2 separate regions of the Homo sapiens genome follow, and region 1 is linked to region 2. The links are contacts of gene promoters, found by promoter capture Hi-C in human tissues and cell types (Jung and others, 2019). All regions are on one chromosome and are shown on one strand. Each heading gives the region's core, a stretch centred on a gene start or on the middle of the fragment in contact. The rest is flanking DNA. Distances are from core to core; before and after follow the strand shown. Region 1 overlaps PLEKHG4B (pleckstrin homology and RhoGEF domain containing G4B). Region 2 holds the start of LRRC14B (leucine rich repeat containing 14B).

Evidence for each region. The method cuts DNA at HindIII sites, captures the fragments that hold promoters and counts their contacts. A contact is called where the count stands out against the background at its distance.
Region 1: a fragment that was not itself captured here is called in contact with the fragment with the promoter of LRRC14B in region 2 in 3 of the 25 tissues and cell types used here (mesendoderm cells, spleen and thymus).

Annotation. Positions count from the first base shown.
Region 1 is chr5:148,757-153,262 of GRCh38, forward strand. It overlaps PLEKHG4B (pleckstrin homology and RhoGEF domain containing G4B), which reads left to right. Exons shown (of 20, transcript NM_052909.5): 7 at 2,757-2,843. Among named protein-coding and RNA genes, the nearest start is that of LRRC14B, 40 kb to the right of the region's middle. The HindIII fragment of the contact is 5,033 bases long and covers 1-4,234 here.
Region 2 is chr5:189,240-193,747 of GRCh38, forward strand. It overlaps LRRC14B (leucine rich repeat containing 14B), which reads left to right and starts at 2,256. Exons shown (of 2, transcript NM_001080478.3): 1 at 2,256-3,198. The coding sequence starts at 2,300. LOC124900929 (a long non-coding RNA gene) reads right to left here. Exons shown (of 2, transcript XR_007058670.1): 2 at 3,489-3,749. It overlaps PLEKHG4B (pleckstrin homology and RhoGEF domain containing G4B), which reads left to right. Exons shown (of 20, transcript NM_052909.5): 20 at 1-727. RefSeq lists an enhancer at 1,921-1,970. The HindIII fragment of the contact is 15,773 bases long and covers 1-4,508 here.

The sequences.
Region 1 (4,506 bases), core at 468-2,967, 41 kb before region 2:
AAATAGCCAAAACAATTGTAAAAAATAAAAACAAAGCTGGAGGACTCACAGTTCCTGATTTCAAAACTTAACAAAGCAACAGTAATCAAAAAAGTTTGGCACTGGCATTAAAACAGACGTATAGAACAATGGAATAGAGTAGAAAGCCATGAAACTAACAATCATATACATAAATGATTTTTGAAAAGGGTACCAAGACCATTCAATGGAGAAAGGACAGTCTTTTTTAACAAATGGTGCTTAAAAAACTAGATATTCACATGCAAAAGAATGAACTTAGATTCTTACCTAAACACCATATAAAAAATTAACTCAAATGGATCAAAAACCTAATTGTAAGACCTAAAACTATAAAACGTTTAGAAGACAACATAGGGCAAAAGTTTTCTAACATTGGATTTGGCAATGATTTATTAGATATAATATCAGAGGCACCAGCAACAAAAGAAAAAATGGACAAATCAGACTTTTCAAAAATTAAAAAATGTGCATCAAAAGACTACCAGACAGATGTGGTAGCTCATTCCTGTAATCCCAGCACTTTGGGAGGCTGAGGCAGGAGGATTGCTTGAGCCCAGGAGTTCAGGACCAGCCTGGGCAATATAGTAAGACTCTGTCTCTATGAAAAAAAAAAATTAGCTGAGCATGGTGGTGCATGTTTGTAGTCCTAGCTACTTAAGGGTCTGAGGTGGGAGGATCGCTTGAGCCCAGGAGGTCAAGGCTGCAGTGAGCCATGGTCATGCCACTGCACTCCAGTATGGATGACAGAGAGAGACCCCGTCTCAAAAAAAGTAAATAAGAAGACGCTATCAACAGAGTAAAAAGGCAGCCCACAGAATGGGGGGAAATTTTGGCAAATTATGTATCTGATAGGAGGTTAATATCCAGAATATATAGAGAACTCCTAAAATTCAACAACAACAAAAACCAAACTGCCCAATTCAAAAATGAACAAAAGACTTGAATAGACATTTCTCCAAAGAAGATATATATGTGGCTAATGAGCACATGAAAAGATGTTCAATGTCATTAATGATTAGAGAAATTCAAATCAAAACCTCAATTAAATACCACTTCCCCATCCATTAGGGTGGCTATTGTAAAAAAACAACAAGTGTTGGCAAAGATACGGAGAAACTGGAACCCTTGTGCACGGTTGATGGGAACAGTAAATAGTGACTCATTGTGGAAAACAATTTGGCAGTTCCTCAAAAAAGTAAATATAGGATTACCATATGATCCAACAATACTGTGTCTGGGTATATACCCAAGAAATTGAAAGCAGAGTTTCAGAGATTTATACAGCTGTGTTCATAGCAGCATTATCCATAACAGCTAAAACACAGAAGCAACCTTAGTGCCCATCAACAGATGAATGGATAAGCAAAATGTGGCCTATCTTTACGATGGAATATTATCCAGCCTTAAAAAGGAAGGAAATTCTGACATATGCCACAGCATGTATGAATCTTGAGAACATGCTGAGTGAAATAAGCCAATCACAAAAAGACAAACATTCCACTTCTATGAGTACTCAGAGTAGCCCAGATCCCAGAGACAGAAAGTTGAATTATGGTTGCCTGGTGCCAGGAGCAGGGGGTAATGGAGAGTTTTTCTTTTACGGGTGCAGGGTTTTGCTCTTACAAGATGAAAAGAGTTATGGAGACGAATGGTGGTGGTGGTTGCACTACGTTATGAATGTACCTAAGACTGCTGAACAGTACACTGAAAAATGATGATGATAGTGTTTCACCACAATGAAACAATTGAAAATGCACATCTGATAAAGGGCTTGTATATAGAATATATACGGTCTCAAAACTCAGTAATAAGAAAACAACCCAATAAAATATGGGAAAGGATTTGAGTACTCTTCACTGAAGATGATACACAGATGGCAAATAAGCACATAAAAATATGCCTAACGTCATTAATCACTGGGGAAATGCAACTGAAAACCAAAATGAAACACACAAAAACAGTAACAAAGCTTGACAGTAACAAATGCTTGGTATTGCTGATGGAAATGCAAAATGGTACAGCCACTCTGGAAAATACTTACTTATCACATGAGCCAGAAATCCCACTCCTAGATATTTATCCAAGAGAAATGAAAACTTGTGTTCACACAATATTTATAGTGACTTTACCCATGATTGCCAAAAACTGGAAACAACCCAGTTATCCTTCAGCTGGTGAATGGATGAACAGATTGTGGTGAGGCATACCGTGGAATACTGCTCAGCAAAACAGAGGAACAAACCGTTGATCTCCACAACAGGGATGAGTTCCCAATGCACAATGCTAAGTGAGAGAGGCCACTCCTGCCTGAGTCTATTTATGTCTAGAAAAGGCAAGTCGGTGGAGACGAAAGCAGGTCAGTGGTTGCCAGGGGCTGGGCATAGGAGAGGGCTTGGCTACGAAGAGGCACAAGAGAATTTTGGGGTTGCTTAACAGTTCTTTGTCTTGATGGTGGTGATGGTTACATGACTATGCTTTCATCAAAACTTATAGAACTATTCACTAAAAAGGGTGAATTTTATTGTATGTAAATTATACCTCGATAAACCTGATTACATTAAAAATTCATAAGGGCAAATAATTTACATTTCAGGGCAAAGTCAGCCATGTTTTATGCACTGTAGGCACTCTGGGAAACTATGACAGAAGTAGTACCACTCAAAATTGGGCAATTCTATTAATGAAGTTAAAAATTAGAAAGCTAATCAGTAATATTTATTTCTTATTTATTTCAGAACAACACATCTCCTATAATTCATAGTATCTTGCTGTTGGTAGATAAAGAATCTGCATTTAGGCCTGACAAGGATGCAATAATTCAGGTAATGGTTTAGACTGTGGGATCCTGAGTGATGGATAAAATTAAACATTAAGGCACCTAGATGAGATGAAACACATGAAGGAATTTAGATAAGTTCTAATTGCATCCATGTGGGAGCCTGGAAACCTACTTCCTACCCCGTAAGTTCTTGCAGGAGTCCTGCAGAGTATGCCATGAAAAACTTAAAAATGTGACCTTTCTTCTCCACCTCATATGGTTTCTTTCCTTCTCTTTCTTTGTATCTTCCTCTTTTATCTGAAAACATCTTCTTCATTTGGCCTCATTCTGAAAGGGTATTTTTGTTACATCTAGAATTCTGGTTTGAGAGGAGTTCTCCTTTTCCCCTCAGCACTTTAAAGATACTGCTCTGTTGCCTTCTGGCCTCCATAATTTTAGAAGAAAAGTTCATCATAATTCAGATCATTGTTCATCTCTATGAAGTGTGTTAATTTTCCTTTGGCTGTTTCCAAGGTACTTCCTTTCTTTTGAGCAAATCGCAATGCGAGCGGGCTTGGTTTTCTTCATTATCCAGTTTAGGCTTGAACGTTAAATTTGTGAATTCATGTCTATCACCACCTTTAGGACCTTTTTAGCCATTCTTTCTGTCTTTTTTTTTTTTTTTCCTTTCCTGAGACAGCATCTAGCTCTGTCACCCAGGTTGGAGTGTGGTTGTGCAATCAGAGCTTACTGTAATCTCAAACTCCTGGGCTCAAGAGATTCTCCCACCTCAGCCTCCTGAGTAACTGGGACTGAAGGTGTGCACCCCCATGCCAAGCTACTTTTTTTTTTTTTTTAAGAGACAGGTTCTTGCTATGTTGCCTAGGCTGGAATCGAAGTCCCGGCCTTAGGCAGTCCTCCCACCTTGGCCTCCCAAAGCTCTGGGATTGTAGGCCTGAGCCACAGTACCTGGCCTAGTTCTTAAAAACTTTTTTCCTGCTTTATTCTCTCTCTCTTTCTAGTACTTCAATTGCGTATACCAGTATTGTCCCGCAGATCTCTAAGAATCTGTCTTTTTTAACTTTTTTCCTCTCTAGTCTTCATATCAGGTTGTTCCCATTGATCCTGTCCTTAGGGTCACTGGCTCCTTACTCTGTCATCTCTTCAGCTGTTAAACTCACTAATGTGGCTTGGCTCTGTGTCCCCACACAAATCTCCTCTCAAATTTTAATCCCCACGTGTGGAGGGAGAGACCTGGTGGGAGGTGACTAGATCATGGGGGCAGATGCTGTTCTTCTGATAGTGAGTGAGTTCTCATGAGAGCTGATGGTTTTAAAGTGTGGCCCTTCCTTACTCTGTCTCTTGCCTGTACCATGTAAGATGTGTCTTGCTTCTCCTTTGCCTTCTGCCATGATTGTAAGTTTCCTAAGGCCTCCCCAGCCATGCAAAACTGTGAGTCAATTAAACCTCTTTCCTTTATAAATTACCCAGTCTCAGGTAGTATCTTTACAGCAGTGTGAAAACAGACTAATACATTTACCCAGTGAATGTTTTAGTTCAAATATTGTATTTTTCAGCTATAAGATTTCCAATGGATTTTAAAATATATTTTCTACATCTCTCCTGAGTTTTCCTCTCCTTTCATAAATTGCAAGCATTTTTCCTTTACCTCATTGAGCACAGTTTTAATGGCTGCTTTGAAGTCCTTGTCTAATAATTCCAACATC
Region 2 (4,508 bases), core at 1,006-3,505:
AACCCTCCTGCCCTCCAAAGGTCATGGGGTGACCCAGGGTGGGAACACCAGACCCCCTCACCCCGTGTCCACCGCCCATGGCCGGGCTCACAGTGTCTCAGAGCCGTGGTGAGCCATCCTAGGACCAGTGTACCTCACAACCTTTCAGACCAGTGAAGGCCAGTGGGCTGGGTGGTCCAGGCATGTCCCCAACGCAGGTCCAGCCATCTCTGCACAGAACTGGAATCTCGGTTCATTTCGGTTTCAGCAGGTCCCATGTAGTTAGCAGGACAGCACTTGAGTTAGGTCTGAGAAAGAACGCCTGTTTGTCATGGCATTTCCTGTAAGGAGCCCAGAGCCGTGGCCCCAGGTTGGGACGGCGGCGCCAGAGCTGGGCCTGAGTCTGACCCAACCTGTGCTGAGTGGTCCTGCTGGAATGGGAACCCCAAGAGGACCACCCCTCTCTAAAAGAAGGGAAAACAGTAAGCGAGAGGGAGGCTGCAGGGGCCCAGACCTTGGCTGACCTTCCTAGCCATGGTCTCCACCCTCCGAGACCCAGGGGCCCCGCAGTGACAGCAGGGTGTTGGGCCACACAGAGCCCGAGTAGGTAAAGGAAGGTTCTGGAAACCACTTTTCAGAACCCAAAAGGTGTCTGGGAAATGGCGTTACCTGCCACTGTTGTTAAGTGTTTACTTTGTATCAATACTGAATTGTTAAAAATTTTAATCATAAAAACCAATGGAACATGTTTTTCTACTGTGTCCTTCGAGATTCTCTTATCTGGTCCTGGAAAGGGGCCGTGTGTCTGGGGAAACCTCTTGTGCACCTCATGAGGGGAGCCCGGGGGCCCACATCGGCTGGCCGAGGGCGGCCACCCCTGAAGGGTGGGGTCAGGGCCCACCCACCTCTTCACACACACCTCCGCCTGCTGGACAGTGCCTGGGCCCCACAACGGAGCACAGTCCCTTCTGCATGGGTCGCCTCCCGGGGAGAGGCATTGCTCAGGCTCAGGGAACAAACTGGGGAGGGTCAGACAGGGAGGCTGGTGGGGCACCCATGACCAGCACCCTCCAAGCTTGCTCAGCAGCCTTCCCCCTCCCACTGCTGTTTCTCTTTCTGTCTCCCCGTCTGTCTGTCTTTCTCAGTCTCTGTCTCTGCCTACCAGTCTCTCTCTCTCTCTCTTAGTCTCTGTCTCTCCCTTTCTGTCTCTCTCTCAGTCTGTCTCTTTCTGTTTCCCTTTCTCTCTCCCTCAGTCTCTGTCTCTCTCCCTCTTAGTTTCTGTCCCTCTGTCTCTGTCTCAGTCTCCGTCACTCACTTCTCTCAGTCTCCCTCAGCCTCTGTCTCATGGCCGTGACCCTCCAAAGCCCATGGACACGTGGTGCCCTGTAGTGATGTGTGCAGTGATGTGTGCAGCGATGTGTGCTGACCCTGCCCTGAGTGGCAGTGTCACGGGGAGAGGTGAGTGCAGCACCCATCAGCTGTCCAACACGGTCAGTGCTGGGAGTGAACCATCAGGCACCGCCCCCCAACACAGGTGTATCCCATTCCCTGCAGCTTTCCCTGCCGCACAGGCGGCAGGGTTGCAGACAGGACACTGCAGCTCAGAGAGAGCTGGGGGCTCATCCGAGGCCATCAGGGAGGCTCCACCTCTCCCAGCCACTCTCTCCCATGGAAAGTAGGGAAGCCACCCCCGCCGGGTCCTTGGGGAGAAGGAAAGGCACAGGGAAGGGGCAAAACAGCAGCTCCATTCCTGGCCACTCGTCTCACCCCAGATGCGAGGCGAAGTGTGGGAGCGGCCCCAGAGGCCACTGTGGAAAGGGAACTGGTTACCGAGTGAGGCGCAGGGGCCTGGCCTGTTCTCTGCCCCGTTGACTGGTGGGGGAGGTGCCCAGAGCTGGGCAGTAGCCCCGCTTGGATGGTAAACAGGACCTGCCCGCTGGCCTCACCGGCCGCCAGCACGAACGCCTGCCAAGACTGGCTTTCTGCAGCATGGAGCACAGGCTTCTCTGCCCAGCCCTGCCATGGGCACGGGCTGCCTTTCTGTGTCGGCTGGGTGCCTGAGCCAAGCAGCTCCCAACGGCTGGGTGCCTGAGCCAAGCAGCTCCCAACGGCTGGGTGCCTGAGCCAAGCAGCTCCCAACGGCTGCGTGCCCCGAGGCCGGGCAGACGCAGGTGTCCCAGGACCAAAATAGCAGTCAGATGATCATAAGGCCCCGTGGCAGGGCCCCCAGGGCAGGCTGCTCACAGCTGCTGCAGCTAAAGATAGGCGTGAAGGGCACACGCCTTGGGGAAAGTCGTGGGGAGCGGTCCTGTCTCGGGCCATGGACACAATGAGGTCACTCCGCTTCATTTCTGCAGAAGCTCTGGTGTCCCACCCCCAGGTGGCCCGGCAGAGCCTGGACAGCGTGGCCCACAACCTCTACCCACTCCTGTTCAAAGCCAGCTACCTGCTGGAGCAGGCGGAGGTGACGCGCGCGGTGCTGGGGCGCTGGCCCCTGGAGGAGTTCCGGCTGGGAGCGCTGCTGGGTCCTGGTGCCGACCACCCCCAGGACCTGCGCGACAGAACCTGCAGGGCCTGCCTGGAGGCGCTGGTGCGCGGCCTCGCGGACCACGTGCTGCAGGACCGGAGCCGCCGGCGGCTGCGGGTGGCTGACCTCACGGGCATCCGAGATGTGCAGGTGCAGCGGTGCCCGTGCGGGAGGGCGCTGGGCAGGTGGGGCCGCACCCAGCTGCTGGCCAGGACCTGCTGTGAGCTGCAGGCAGAGCCCCTCGCAGCCGGGCGCCCCGTCGAGGTCCTCGCCGACCTCTTCGTCACTGAGGGCAACTTCGAGGCGGTGGTGCAGGCTCTGAGGCCAGCGGGCCCGGCCCCTCTGCGGGTGCACTGCCCCTCGTTCCGGGCGGACAGCCTGAGCCCCAGCCAGCTCCTGCACGTGCTGCGTCTGGCTGGCCCGGGTGCCCTGCGCAAGCTGGAGGTGGTGCACAACGTGCGGCTGCATGCGGGCCACGTGCAGCAGCTTCTGGCCCAGGTGGGCTTCCCCCGGCTGGCCTCGCTCACCCTGCCCACCAAGGCCTTTGATGCACCCCCCACCTACGCCTCCACTCCCGACGGCGAGGACCCCCTCCTCGCCTCCATCGCCCGGGAGCTCAGCAAGATGGCGCAGCTCACTGAGCTCAGTGTGGCCTTCTCCACGCTGACCGGGAAGATCCCGACGCTGCTTGGGTGAGTCTTGGGGAGGGGACTGAGGGCGGGCTGGTGGCTGCAGAGGCAAGGAGAGATCGTCCAGGGGCCTGCTCATGTCCAAGGCCATGAGGCTACACGGCCTCCAGCCTCTCACTCCGGGTGTGGCCACAGCCACAGGACAGCGGCCCCGCCAAGGGGCAAGAGCACCGAAAGTCAGAGCCACCAGGAAAGAAGCGGGCTGCCATGTGTGACTTAGGGATGTGGAGAGAATGCCAGTTAAAAAAAGAGAATACGGAAATTACCAAACAGACGAAACAGAAGTGCCTACGTGGTGTGAGGAGTTGTCTATTGTTGATGAACGACTCACCCCAACACTTGGGGGCTTCAAACAGCAAACACGATTTCAGCTCAGAAATCTGAGCCTGTCGGTGCCTTTGGCTCAGGGCTGCTGTTGGCCAAGGGTGCCATCTCATCCGAAGGCCTGACAGGGCGGGATCCTCCCAGTCTCCCTCGAGGGAGGCCTGGGCTCCATGCTGCATGGACCTCCCCATGGTGGGACAGGAGGCTTATGCAGGATCCTCTCAGCAGATCTGCGTGAAGGAGGCAGAGAGGGCAGCAGCTAGGAAGGGGCCAGGCCAAGGCAGCCTCAGGCAGTGGTGAGGGGGATGCCCGGCGGTGGGTCCAAGGGGGGTGCCCAGCAGTGGATCCTGGAGGGGGAGTGCCTAGCGGTGGGTCCAAGGGGGGTGCCCAGTGATGGGTCCTGGGGAACGGGGTGCCTGGCAATGGGTGCTGGGAGGGAGCCTGGTGGTGGGTCCTGAAGGAGGGGCAGCTGGCGGTGGGTATTGGGGTCACCGGGTGATGGGTCCTGGTGGGGCAACCTAGCGGTGGGTCCGGGGGGCACCCAGTTTTGGGTCCTGGGGGTGGGACCTGGCAGTGGGTCTAGGGGGAAGGGGTGCCTGGTAGGTACTGGGGAAGCACCTAGAGGTGGGTCCTCAGGTGCTGGGGGGTGCCTGGCGGTGGGTTCTGGGGGCTGGGGGCACATGGCAGTGGGTCCTGGTGGGGCGTTTGGCAGTGGGTTTTGGGGAGAAGTGCCTGGCGGTGGTAGGGGTGCCTGGTGGTGGGTCCTGAAGTGGGGGCACCTGGTGGTGAGTCCTGGGGTGGGGGGTGGCTGGCTGTGGGTCCTGGGGTGGCACCAGGCAGTAGATCCTGGTGGGGGATGCCTGGCGGTGGGTCCTGAAGGATGGGGGTGCCCTGCGGTGGGTCCTGAGGGATAGAGGTGCCCTGCGGTGGGACCTTGGGCAGGGGGCATGCCTGGCGTGGTTTCTCAGGTGGGACAGGGGCACCTGGCA